Linked DNA regions of Homo sapiens: region 2 is linked to region 1. The links are contacts of gene promoters, found by promoter capture Hi-C in human tissues and cell types (Jung and others, 2019). All regions are on one chromosome and are shown on one strand. Each heading gives the region's core, a stretch centred on a gene start or on the middle of the fragment in contact. The rest is flanking DNA. Distances are from core to core; before and after follow the strand shown. Region 1 holds the start of ZNF141 (zinc finger protein 141). Region 2 has its middle 84 kb from the start of ZNF718.

Region 1 (5,549 bases), core at 801-3,300:
GCCTACTATAGGGATGAACTAGGTGGTCAAGTGGCCGTATTATTTCACTGTATTAATACAAATACACCTTCCAGCCCTGGGAAGCAGCATACAATTGCCAAGAGACGTTAGAATGCTGCTGGAGGATTCCAGGGTCTCACAGTCTGGATTTTAGAGTCCTGAATTTTAGACTTTTCAAGGACATGTGCTCCTCTGGGGTTCAGGCATAATAGACTATATTTACCGATGGTGACTGTGTGCATGACGCCATAACATGTTACACTATTAACTCACTTAAGGGACTCCATGAGGCAGGTACTGCTATCTTCACTTTACAGAGGACACTGAGCACAGGCAAGTAACTTCCCCATGGTCACACAGCTGGAAATAGCAGAGCAGCTGGGATGTGCACCCAGAGTCTGTGTACTTAGCCACAGTGCAATCCTGCATAACTACAAAACAAACTTATGTGTGTGAGCATCTATCCGCCCAAGCAGACAAGTGTCAAACTACGCGAATGCTGTCCAAGCACTGCGTGAGCATACACTTCTCTGAAAGCGTTCTGCTCATCAACAGGGCCAGCCAGTGACTTTTCTGATCGCTTAATGCACCTATCCAGTCTCTTCACAGGCGGCTCCTGGGGTCTGCCGGGGGTGCTGGCGTCGGGTTGGCCCTGGCGCTGTCCCCAGCCCCCACTCCCCAGGCCCTGCAGCGCCATGAGGTCGGACTCCTGGGCGTGTCCTGGGTTCTGACCCACCCGCGACGCCAGCTGCCCGCGCCCGGAGCGGATGGGCCTGGCCCGGCTCCACCCCGCGGGGCTCCGCGGCTCAACGGGTCGCCCAGGGGCGCGGGCCCGGCTTCGTCCTCGACGGTGTCCGCCCCGGCCCTGGCTAGGCCGACGGCAGCCGGGTCCGGGTGGGGCTCGGGCTCGGGGCGCGCCCCTCCCATCTCTCCAGGGTCCGCGTCCTCGCTGCCGCCAGGTCCCGCCGAGATCCCCGGTGGCCCCGGCTCCAGCGGCTGCAGCGTCGCCATCGCCGGGCAGACCCCGGCCGACCTCAAAGCGACCGCGCGGTGGGGCCGGCGGGGACTGGGGCTGCGCAGCGCGGCCTGGGGTGGGGGCGGCGGGGCCCCCAGGAGCTCCTGGGAACCGAGGGTCCTGGGGCGGTCCCGCCCCGCACAGCTCCGGGTGAGCTTGGGGAGGGAGACACACTCTCAGCCCACCTCGCCCCGCCCGACAGCGCTCCGAGTCCTGAGTCCCCTCACCCCCATTCTACAGACACGAAGGTGAAGCCAAAGACGGGACGCTCACTTCCTGAGAATTTGCTGCCTGCTGCGTGGACACCACCGACCTATTGTTTACAGCGGTCAGGGACCCGCCCCCCAGACCCCCAGGACCGCGCTTCCGGGGGAGGAGGGTGTCCTCAGCAACGGTGACCCGCACCAAAGCCCTCCTCACCGGGGTCACCGCCACAGCCGGTGCGAGGCCCGCAGGGCGCTGGGGATGCGCGACCGACTCCCGTGAACCTGCTCCTCGCGCGTCAGGGAGAGCTGTGCACCCAACTAGGCTCTGTGAGGACGGACTGAGGTCGGCCTGCAGGCTGCGGCCCCGAAGGCAGGATTTGTGGAGAGATGATTCGCGAGCCTTGGAGGAAGGATGGGCTGTGCGTGCGTGGGTGCGTGCGTGTGTGTGTGTGTGTGTCTGTGACTTTTGTATGTTTATGTGAGACTGCGTACGTGCGCGCGTCTGTGTGTGCGCGCGCGCGTATATGTCTGTGTGTGTGCGTGCGTGTATAATTTCTAAATGGACGTCACCTTACACATCACAAGGTTAAAAAATGACCCCTGGGCTGTGCCAGGCCAAGCACGAAGAGAAAGCCCCGCCTGAAACTGCCTGGAGGCCCCCCGGCTGTCACTCTCGCCACATTCCGTGGAGTATGTGGTTGCAACTTCTGTCACTCAAGGTCTGATGGCGGGGAGATTGGAGCCGTATCCAATCAGCGCACTGGAGTGAAAACTGCCCAATCAGGCACGCAGCCAGAGAGGAGGCGGTGGCTTCCGGGATGTGGCGCGGGTCTTTGCGTCTGGCTACTACCAGACCGCGGGTTAGGGGCTTCATCTCTCTGCGTTCTCAGTTGTGGGAGGCCTTGGTGATTCGGCCACAGCTCAGCCTCCGTCGCTCTGTGACCTGCGGGTATTGGATGATTGGTAGCTAAGACTCCCGAATACTTCAGAAGTGGGGAAATGGTGAGTGTGCGGGGCAGGGCGTCCCAAGGCTGAGGAGGTCTCATCGGAGCTGGCGGGAAATGGCGGCGGGACCGAGTCTGCGAACGGAGTCCCCGCTGCCGCCGCTCAGCCCTGGGGCCTCAGTACCCTCCGGTGAGGGACCTGGGCTCCTGTCGGTCCCCGCACAGCGGCTCTGGCCCAGCCTGCAGCCCTCCTTGTGCAGCTCTGCGCCCGCAGCCCCGCACCTTCCCCAGGCTGTGGGGTGAGGAGTAGCTTATCTGGAAGCCGCCCGCGCGGCGTGCGCGATGCCGGCGTGGGAGGAGCTGTGGGAGAAGCTGTGGTCTGGGGATCCCGTCCCTGCTTTACCCTGTTCGGAATGAGATCGAGGCCCCATCAAAACAGAGTTCATGTGAGCAAATGGGGACTCATTAATGGGACAGCGCCGGCCGTGGCTCGTGGTTTGGGGGCTGCCAGCGGGTCTTGAAGGAAAAGCTTTTGTGAGGTGTGTGAGGAAGCGAAGCAAATCACCCGCCCGCTCCAACTTGCCCACCAGTCTCCTTGCCCTGTGCGCCTCCTCCGCGTGGCTGTTCCTGAGTGGCATCTTTTAGAATACGCTAGTGTGGGCGCGCACAGCGCTTCGCTGAGTTCTGTGAGTAGTTCTGTCATATTATTGAACTTGAGGAGGGTGTGGGCCCCTGGTTTGTAGACAGGTGTTCAGAAATGAAGACGGGTGTCCAGAGGCAGGGACTGGCGTCTGCAGGGGGGCAGCTGCGGGAAGAGCGCTGAGCTTGTGGGGTCTGTGCTGACTCCGGGTGGTGTCGTTAGTGAGTTGTTGGACAGCCCGTTGGGGTCGGAGCATTGACTGGTGTTGAGCAAACTCCTCACGTTTCCTGTCAGAAGAAAGACATGGCTGAGCCTGGGCTGGAGGGAGTCGCAGGTGTCCGCGGGAGACCAGCCGGGTTCTGCACATGCACTGTCCTGCTGCGCACTGTTCTGTTCCTCCAGGTCTCCTCCCGGGGAGAGAGGGCGCTGAGAACTTGGAGGAAAGGAGTTCTGAGAAACATCCCTTCCCTGCACCCTGCTGCCAGCCCCCACCCAATGCTAACCCACTCCTGAGCCCGCCCATTGGGCATTCGCACGGCCACACTTGTCCCAGGACAGGGTTCTACCCTCAGGAATTGTGCCCATGGCAGCTTTGCTCCTAGGTTTTTCTCCCAAGAACACACACAGTGCCCAGAAGACTCCTGGTTCATTTTAACCCCAGATCTGTAGCAGGAATCTGTTTTCTTCACCCACCCAGGCTTTTGGACCACCTGATCCTAATCTCCTCTGCCTTTATGGGCTCAGGAATCAGTTAGAGCTTAGCCCTGCCTGGGCCTGAACTTGTAGCACAAACCAGTCCTTTCGTCAATCCTGCCTTGCCCCCACTCAAGGCTCTTGATAGCACCTTTCTTCTGCTCTTTTCTTCCCCACAAATCCTCTTTCCTGTGCACACAGTTTGCTCAAGTGCATCCCTCATGTGCTACAAGAATTCAACGTTAGTGAGTTCAAGACCATGCCTTTAGACCTGCCTGTTGTAGGACCAAATACAAATCAGAAGAGGCTTAATGCTTTCTCTTTAGAATGAGGAAAGAATTTTTACTCTTCTCCCTTAAAGCATTTAGTTTGAAAACTTTTATATTTAAATATTTTCTCTGCTTCTTTGAAATATATATAACTCATTTTAATCTGTTAACTAGGTGATTTGTCTTTTTTGACTCAAAATTGTCTTTAGGACATGGAAACTATTGCTTTGAAATGTGCATAGCAAGAATATATAACCTATTCCGCAATTTCTGTAGCAGAGTAGGAGGCTGCCTTCAGCAGGTACCTGCCTTCACATATCAAATCTACCTCCTGTCCTGAAGCTGTGGGAAGTTTATTTTCCCTTTGAATATTACCAATTAGGAAACCCGGATGACCTCCCAAATTACTAGGTGAAAGTGTAATAAACTATGTATGATACATGGTACTGTCAAGTCTTCTACTTGAGAGCTAATTATGGTGACTTTCTTTGTTTTGGCAGTCTCTTAGTAGACTGCCTGTAATGCACACCACATTTTGTTTAATTCTCTAACAACACATTTTCTTGCTGTTCTATTATTTTGGACAGTATTTTAGGATTGTAGATGATTTTGCTGTTATATTTTCCACACGCTGTCAAGAATTACTAGATGTTATACACAAAGTGCCCACCAGGCTTCGTTTTAGAGAAGAACCTTCTTTCTCAGGATTCCAGTCACAACCCACAGTTGTGCAGCAAAGTGCACGAAGTGCAGCAAAGTGCTCCCCAAAGCTGCAAACAAAATGATCTCTCTATTTGGGATCTACAATCCCTTCTATAGCAGTTTGACTAGATTTCTACAAAAATGACTTTTTAGGATAGCGATCAGTTTTTCCACCTCTTTCAGTGTGCCAATGATCTTCAGATCTGACACTGATTCAGAAATCATGGGGCCCATAAATCCAGCGAGGTTCACACATGTGCATTGATTAAACCTGAGAACTTCCATTCTCTCCCTTCTCCCCTTGCCCAAATGCCCACAAATGTGCTTACCAGCCCTCCAAGTCTTAAATGTGCAGTTCCAAATTCTGAGTTTATGTCCTGGGATTTGAGAGAAGAACAGAACTTTTGTTTGAGAAATACAAGTTCTTTTAATTACGAGACCAAGTGATGTGTTAAAATGAGACCACAGTCCTACCGTTCCCCTCTTTGAACTGTTTGTCTTTTGAAGTTGTTTGCTATTGCCACAAGTGGATATAAATTAACCTAATAATGCCATACTGGACACTATAACCCACACCTTATAGCTTAACAACGTACATAGCCAATCACTAACCAATGTTACTTCTATAAACCAATAAGAATTTCTGACAGCTTTCTATCAGTTCCGTCTGCCTTTCTTTTTGCCTTTAAAAATATACTTGTAACTGCTTCTAATTGGAGTGTATATTCAGGGCAGCTTTATAGTCCAGGGTTGCAATCTTCAAGCTTTGGCCCAAATAAACTCTCTTCTTATATTATGTTTACCCCACCTTTTTCCTTTTAGGTCAAAAAAACATTTTTCTTTTTTTTTTTTTTGAGACAGAATCTCGCTCTGTCGCCAGGCTGGGGTGCAGTGGTGCGATCTCGGCTCACTGCAACCTCCGCCTCCCAGGTTCAAGCAATTCTCCTGCCTCCGAGTAGCTGGGATTACAGGCGCACGCCACCATGCCCGGCGGATTTTTTATATTTTGTAGTAGAGATGGGGTTTCACCATATTGGCCAGGCTGGTCTTGAACTCCTGACCTTGTGATCCACCCGCCTC
Region 2 (5,056 bases), core at 2,234-4,733, 130 kb before region 1:
TGTAACTGTGTGTGTGACTCTGTGAGTGTATGACTGTGTGTGACTGTGTGTGTGACTGTGTGTGTGTGGGTGACTGTGTGTGAGATTGTGTGTGACTGTGTGTGACGATGTATGTGTGTGATCCTGTGTGTGACTGTGTGTATGTATGAACTGTGTGTATGTGTGACTGTGTTTTTTTGACTCTGCGTCAGTGACTGTGTATGACTGTGTGTGACTGTGTGACTGTGTGTGGGTATGAGTGTGTGTGTGAGTTCATGTGTGAGTGAGTGACTGCATGAGTGCGTGTGTGTGACTCTGTGGGTGGTGTGGGAGACTGTGTGGCTATGTGTGTGACAGCATATGTGTCTCTGTGTGTGTGTCTGTGAGACTGAGAGACTGTGTGTGAGACTGTGTGTATGTGACTTTGTGTGTGTGTGTGAGTGTGAGTGTGCATGTGTGTAAGAATCCTTCCATGGGAAGGCATCAGAGGTGTCTTAGAGTGGCAGTGGACAGCAGCATCCATGCAGAAGGGGCAGCTTGTGGACAGAGTCACAGGCTGGTTAACTGGTGACAAATTCCTGAAGGTCCCTGACAAATTCAAGAAGAGCCTGTTCCCAGATCAGTGGGGTCTGGGTTTTGTGTTCACCTTTTCCCACTGCTCCAATGAGGCAGGACAGTGGGGCCAGATTGCATTCAACCATGGTCAAGGGCTCCCCTACAAGGTGGGGAGGACTAACTCCCTTCCCAGCCCAGGGACACAGAAGGTTAGAGCAGCCTGTCCAGTGGGAATTTGAGCTCAGACAAGGGAAGCCACTGTCTCAGAGTCACAGAGCAGGTCAGTGGCAGGCCCAGGTCCTGGATCCTCAAGCTCTTTGTCTCTGAAGAAATATTCCACCCCAGAGCATGAGAGTTATCTGAGCACTGACTCCCTGGCAGATGAGGTCATTTTGCCTGTTCTCTCTTTTCACCTTCATTGTGTGTGTGGTTTGTGTAAATATCCCCATCATATGGTGGAAAACTTAGGCTCAGAGAGGGGCAAAGGCCTGTGCAAGGCTACAGAGCTCAGAAGTGGCTAAGCAGAAACAAGGACCAGACAGAATTTCCCTTGACTTTGCTGTGGTCCATCTGGAGGTGGGGCAATTTACTGGGGGACAAGAGGCCATCAGCAGCCCTCTTGGTGGCCATGTGGGCTCAGGGGAGATGTGCATGTAGATGCTGGAGGCCATGATGTTTTCACCCTCGCTCATTTCTAAAGGGGCAAGAATCTTTGCATGGCACAGACCCCTCATTTGCCAAAATGACCCTCCCCTCCCTGCCTCTGGCCCCAGAGGTGAGTCACAGGTGGGTGAGGGTGGGGTCAGGCAAGGGCAAGGTGATGTTGCTAGCACACCCTTCAGGCCCTGCTTCAACCCACGACCCTTGGTCTAGACAGGACACTGGGTTTTTCAGGCAAAACCCAGATACATTGTATCAAAATTTGGATTTCAAATAATATTTTCAGGTGATTCACATGCACACTGATAATTTTAACTGGCAGTAATTCTATAAATGAAAGGGAAAAGAATATATAGATATATTGATTGTCAAAAATGTACAGTAAAGACTATGTTTCAATGCATATACATCTTATCTTACAAAAATAACTAAAAACAACAATAAAGAGGGGATAGGGAATGAGTTGAAGTAGAAATTAAACAGAAATAGGGCATAATTAGTAGATGTTGAGGCTGAGCATCATCTTATACTGAAGGGGTGGCCTGCCCCTCCACACCTGTGGGTGTTTCTGGTCAGGTGGGATGAGAGACTGAGAAAAGAAAGAGACACAGAGACAAAGTATAGAGAAAGAAAAGTGGGCTCAGGGGACTGGCACTCAGCATACGGAGGACCAAGGCCAGCACAAGTCTCTGAGTTCCCTCAGTATTTATTGATCATTATCTCTACCATCTTGGAGGGGGATGTGGCAGGACAATAGGGTAATAGTTGGGAGAGGGTCAGCAGGAAAACATGTGAACAAATGTCTCTGTATCATAAACAAGGTTAAGAAAAAGGTGCTGTGCTTTGATGTGCACATACGTAAACATCTCTGTGCATTAAAGAGCAGTATTGCCACCAGCATGTCTCACCTCCAGCCCTAAGGCGGTTTTCTCCTATCTCAGTATATGGAATATACAATTGGGTTTTACACTGAAACATTCCATTGCCCAGGGACAAGCAGGAGATAGATGCCTTCTTCTTATCTCAACTGCAAAGAGGCCTTCCTCTTTTACTAATCCTCCTCAGCACAGACCCTTTATGGGTGTTGGGCTGGTGGATGGTCAGGTCTTTCCCTTCCCATGAGGCCATATCTCAGGCTATCACATGGGGAGAAACCTTGGACGATACCTAGCTTTCCTAGGCAGAGGTCCCTGCAGCCTTCCACAGTGTTTTGTGTCCCTGGGTACTTGAGATTAGGGAGTGGTGATGACTTTAAACAAGCATGCTGCCTTCAAGCATTTGTTTAACAAAGCACATCCTGCGTAGCCCTCAATCCATTAAACCTTGAGTTGACACAGCACATGTTTCTGCAAGCACAGGGTTGGGGGTAGGGTTACAGATTAACAGCATCTCAAGGCAGAAGAATTTTTCTTAGTACAGAACAAAATGGAGTCTCTTATGTCTACTTCTTTCTACATAGACACAGTAACAGTCTGATCTCTCTTTTTTTCCCCCATATTATACTATTTTGGTTATTGTGTATAAGTTAAAATATTCTCTAATAAAACACTTGTATAAAAAGAAAAACTATAGCATTAGCTCTTAAGATCATGATTAGGTTTGGGGAGGAGGAAAAAAGGAAGTGGTTTGTGGGCAAAAACAGGGGTAGTTCTATTCTATAGTTATGCAATGTATTAGTTTTGTTACAACTTATTGAGCATTACATTAATATTTTATTGTGCATATATTTCTGTATGCGTGTTATACATCAATAAAATTTTAAATATTATTTAATCCTAACTTAATATTTCAGAATAATAGCAATGCTTGGTATTGTTTTGTTTGAAAGTGGGGCATTTACACTCAGGCATCATGAGATGGATACTAATATTCCAAGGTATTTACTCATGTCCTGACCCTTGGGCGTCCCCCTCAGTCTTTCATTTTTTATTTCAATTGAGTAAGTAACATGGTTTTAGTTTTGGGGAATGTAAATTTCTTACAGCAAAGTCCTTCCTCCACAACAATATTCACATAGCACAGTGGGCTGCACACAGTGTGCACTCAGTATGTGTGGAACTGGTTTGAATCAGGAACAAAACAAGTAGCAGAGGTCAGTTTTGCAAAGGATAGAATATGGGTAATACGAGTAAGACTGAAAGGCCACAACTCAACAGCAAACACGTTTTACATTAATTTGAGAAATATTTTCAACTGGTTCTCTGAAAGATGTTGGTTTACAGCAGACATTTTGGAGTATGGTTGCATATTGTAATCACCGGGAGAGCTTTAAATCACACTGCTGCCTGGGTCTCACTCTAGAGATTCTGGCTTAATTATTCCCTTGCAACTTGGGTTTGGGAACATTAAACAACACCACCCACATGCACAGCAGTTTATTCTAATGTGCACCCAAGGGTGAGAAGCATTGATTCAGGGTCAGGAATGCATTGGTTGTGTGTGATTTCTATGTGTGCTCTAGGCATTTGCCATATAGCTGCTCCTAGATGGGGGTCTTAGAAAACATCTTGGCCCTTCAAAACATACTCTGCTGGTTGGCTAAATTGCAACAGGGAAAAATATCAGCAGCTCTATCTCTATGTCACTTGCCTTCAGAGCAAAAGTTTTTTCAGGCACAGTAAGTTGATTTAGTCTGTATTAAAAATCACAGGCTGGGCGCGGTGGCTCACGCCTGTAATCCCAGCACTTTGGGAGGCCGAGGCGGGTGGATCACGAGGTCAGGCAGTCGAGACCATCCTGGCTAACACGGTGAAACCCCGTCTCTACTAAAAATACAAAAAAAAAATTAGCCGGGTGTGGTAGCGGGTGCCTATAGTCCCAGCTACTAGGGAGGCTGAGGCAGGAGAATGGCCTGAACCCAGGAGGCGGAGCTTGCAGTGAGCCAAGACAGCGCCACTGCAGTCCAGCCTTGGCGAAAGAGCGAGACTCCGTCTCAAAAAAAAAATAATAATAAAATAAAATAAATCACAAGTATCCTACCAATACAGAATAATGACACAAAGGGTTTGCAGATATGTGGAGTGCATTATAGGTGTTTTCATATTTATCCTATGATAAGAAATTAAAATGTAATGTTGGGCATTAATTTCCTACACTCAATGCTTAGCCATTTCCTCAAATCATTTCCAGTTTTTCCAAGAGACTTCAGAAGCATTCCCTGGAGTGAATTATTTCCAATGGTGAAGAGTACTGGATGGATGGAATGAGATTCTCAAAAAAAAATCTTGCTTCTATTTCAGAAATGTAACTCTTTAGCCCCTTGAAGGACCAGGAAACCTGGCTGAGTAGTGTGGTCTATGGAGGTGCATGGGCTTCAGAGACAACGTTGATCCTGAGTCCAAGCCAGCTGCTTAGTAGATGTGGGAGAGTTTTATACTTACCTGCAAGAAAAGACAAAACAAAATTGATTGCAAAAACAGAAATTAAAAAAATTTTTCTTATTGTATTCATATTCTTGGAAATGGCTTTTATAGTGGTTCCCATCAACAGACAGATTCTGTTTCCCAAACCTTGAATCTTCCTTATTTGCACAGGCCGAAGCTGTGCATATGACAGTGTGCCAGTTTGGGGCCCAGGCTCAAAAGGTCTTAAATGCTTCTGTTATCTTTTTCAGAATTTTTCCATGTCCATGAAAACAAGCCCATTTTAGCTTTCTGTAGGATAAAATAGCATGCTGAGAAAAGCCAAAGTGCGCCAGTTTACAGACAGCTCACTCCCAGAAGCAGAGCCACCTAATTCACCAGCAGCTGACCACTCACACCTGAAGGAGCCAAACTGAGCCCAGAAGAATGGCCCAGCTAAGCCCAGCCTAAATTTCTAACCAGCTCAACCCCCGAGAGAGAAGGCAGTCGAGGCTGGTTAG

Evidence for each region. Contacts are between HindIII fragments. The study calls those that stand out against the background at their distance.
Region 2: a fragment that was not itself captured here is called in contact with the fragment with the promoter of ZNF141 in region 1 in 2 of the 25 tissues and cell types used here (hippocampus and mesendoderm cells).

What each region holds. Positions count from the first base shown.
Region 1 is chr4:335,764-341,312 of GRCh38, forward strand. It overlaps ZNF141 (zinc finger protein 141), which reads left to right and starts at 2,051. Exons shown (of 4, transcript NM_003441.4): 1 at 2,051-2,223. The coding sequence starts at 2,221. RefSeq lists silencers at 761-820, 1,051-1,160 and enhancers at 1,175-1,690, 1,796-2,756, 1,801-1,900. The HindIII fragment of the contact is 20,671 bases long and covers 1-3,963 here.
Region 2 is chr4:206,076-211,131 of GRCh38, forward strand. No RefSeq gene overlaps it. Among named protein-coding and RNA genes, the nearest start is that of ZNF718, 84 kb to the left of the region's middle. The HindIII fragment of the contact is 9,234 bases long and covers 1-5,056 here.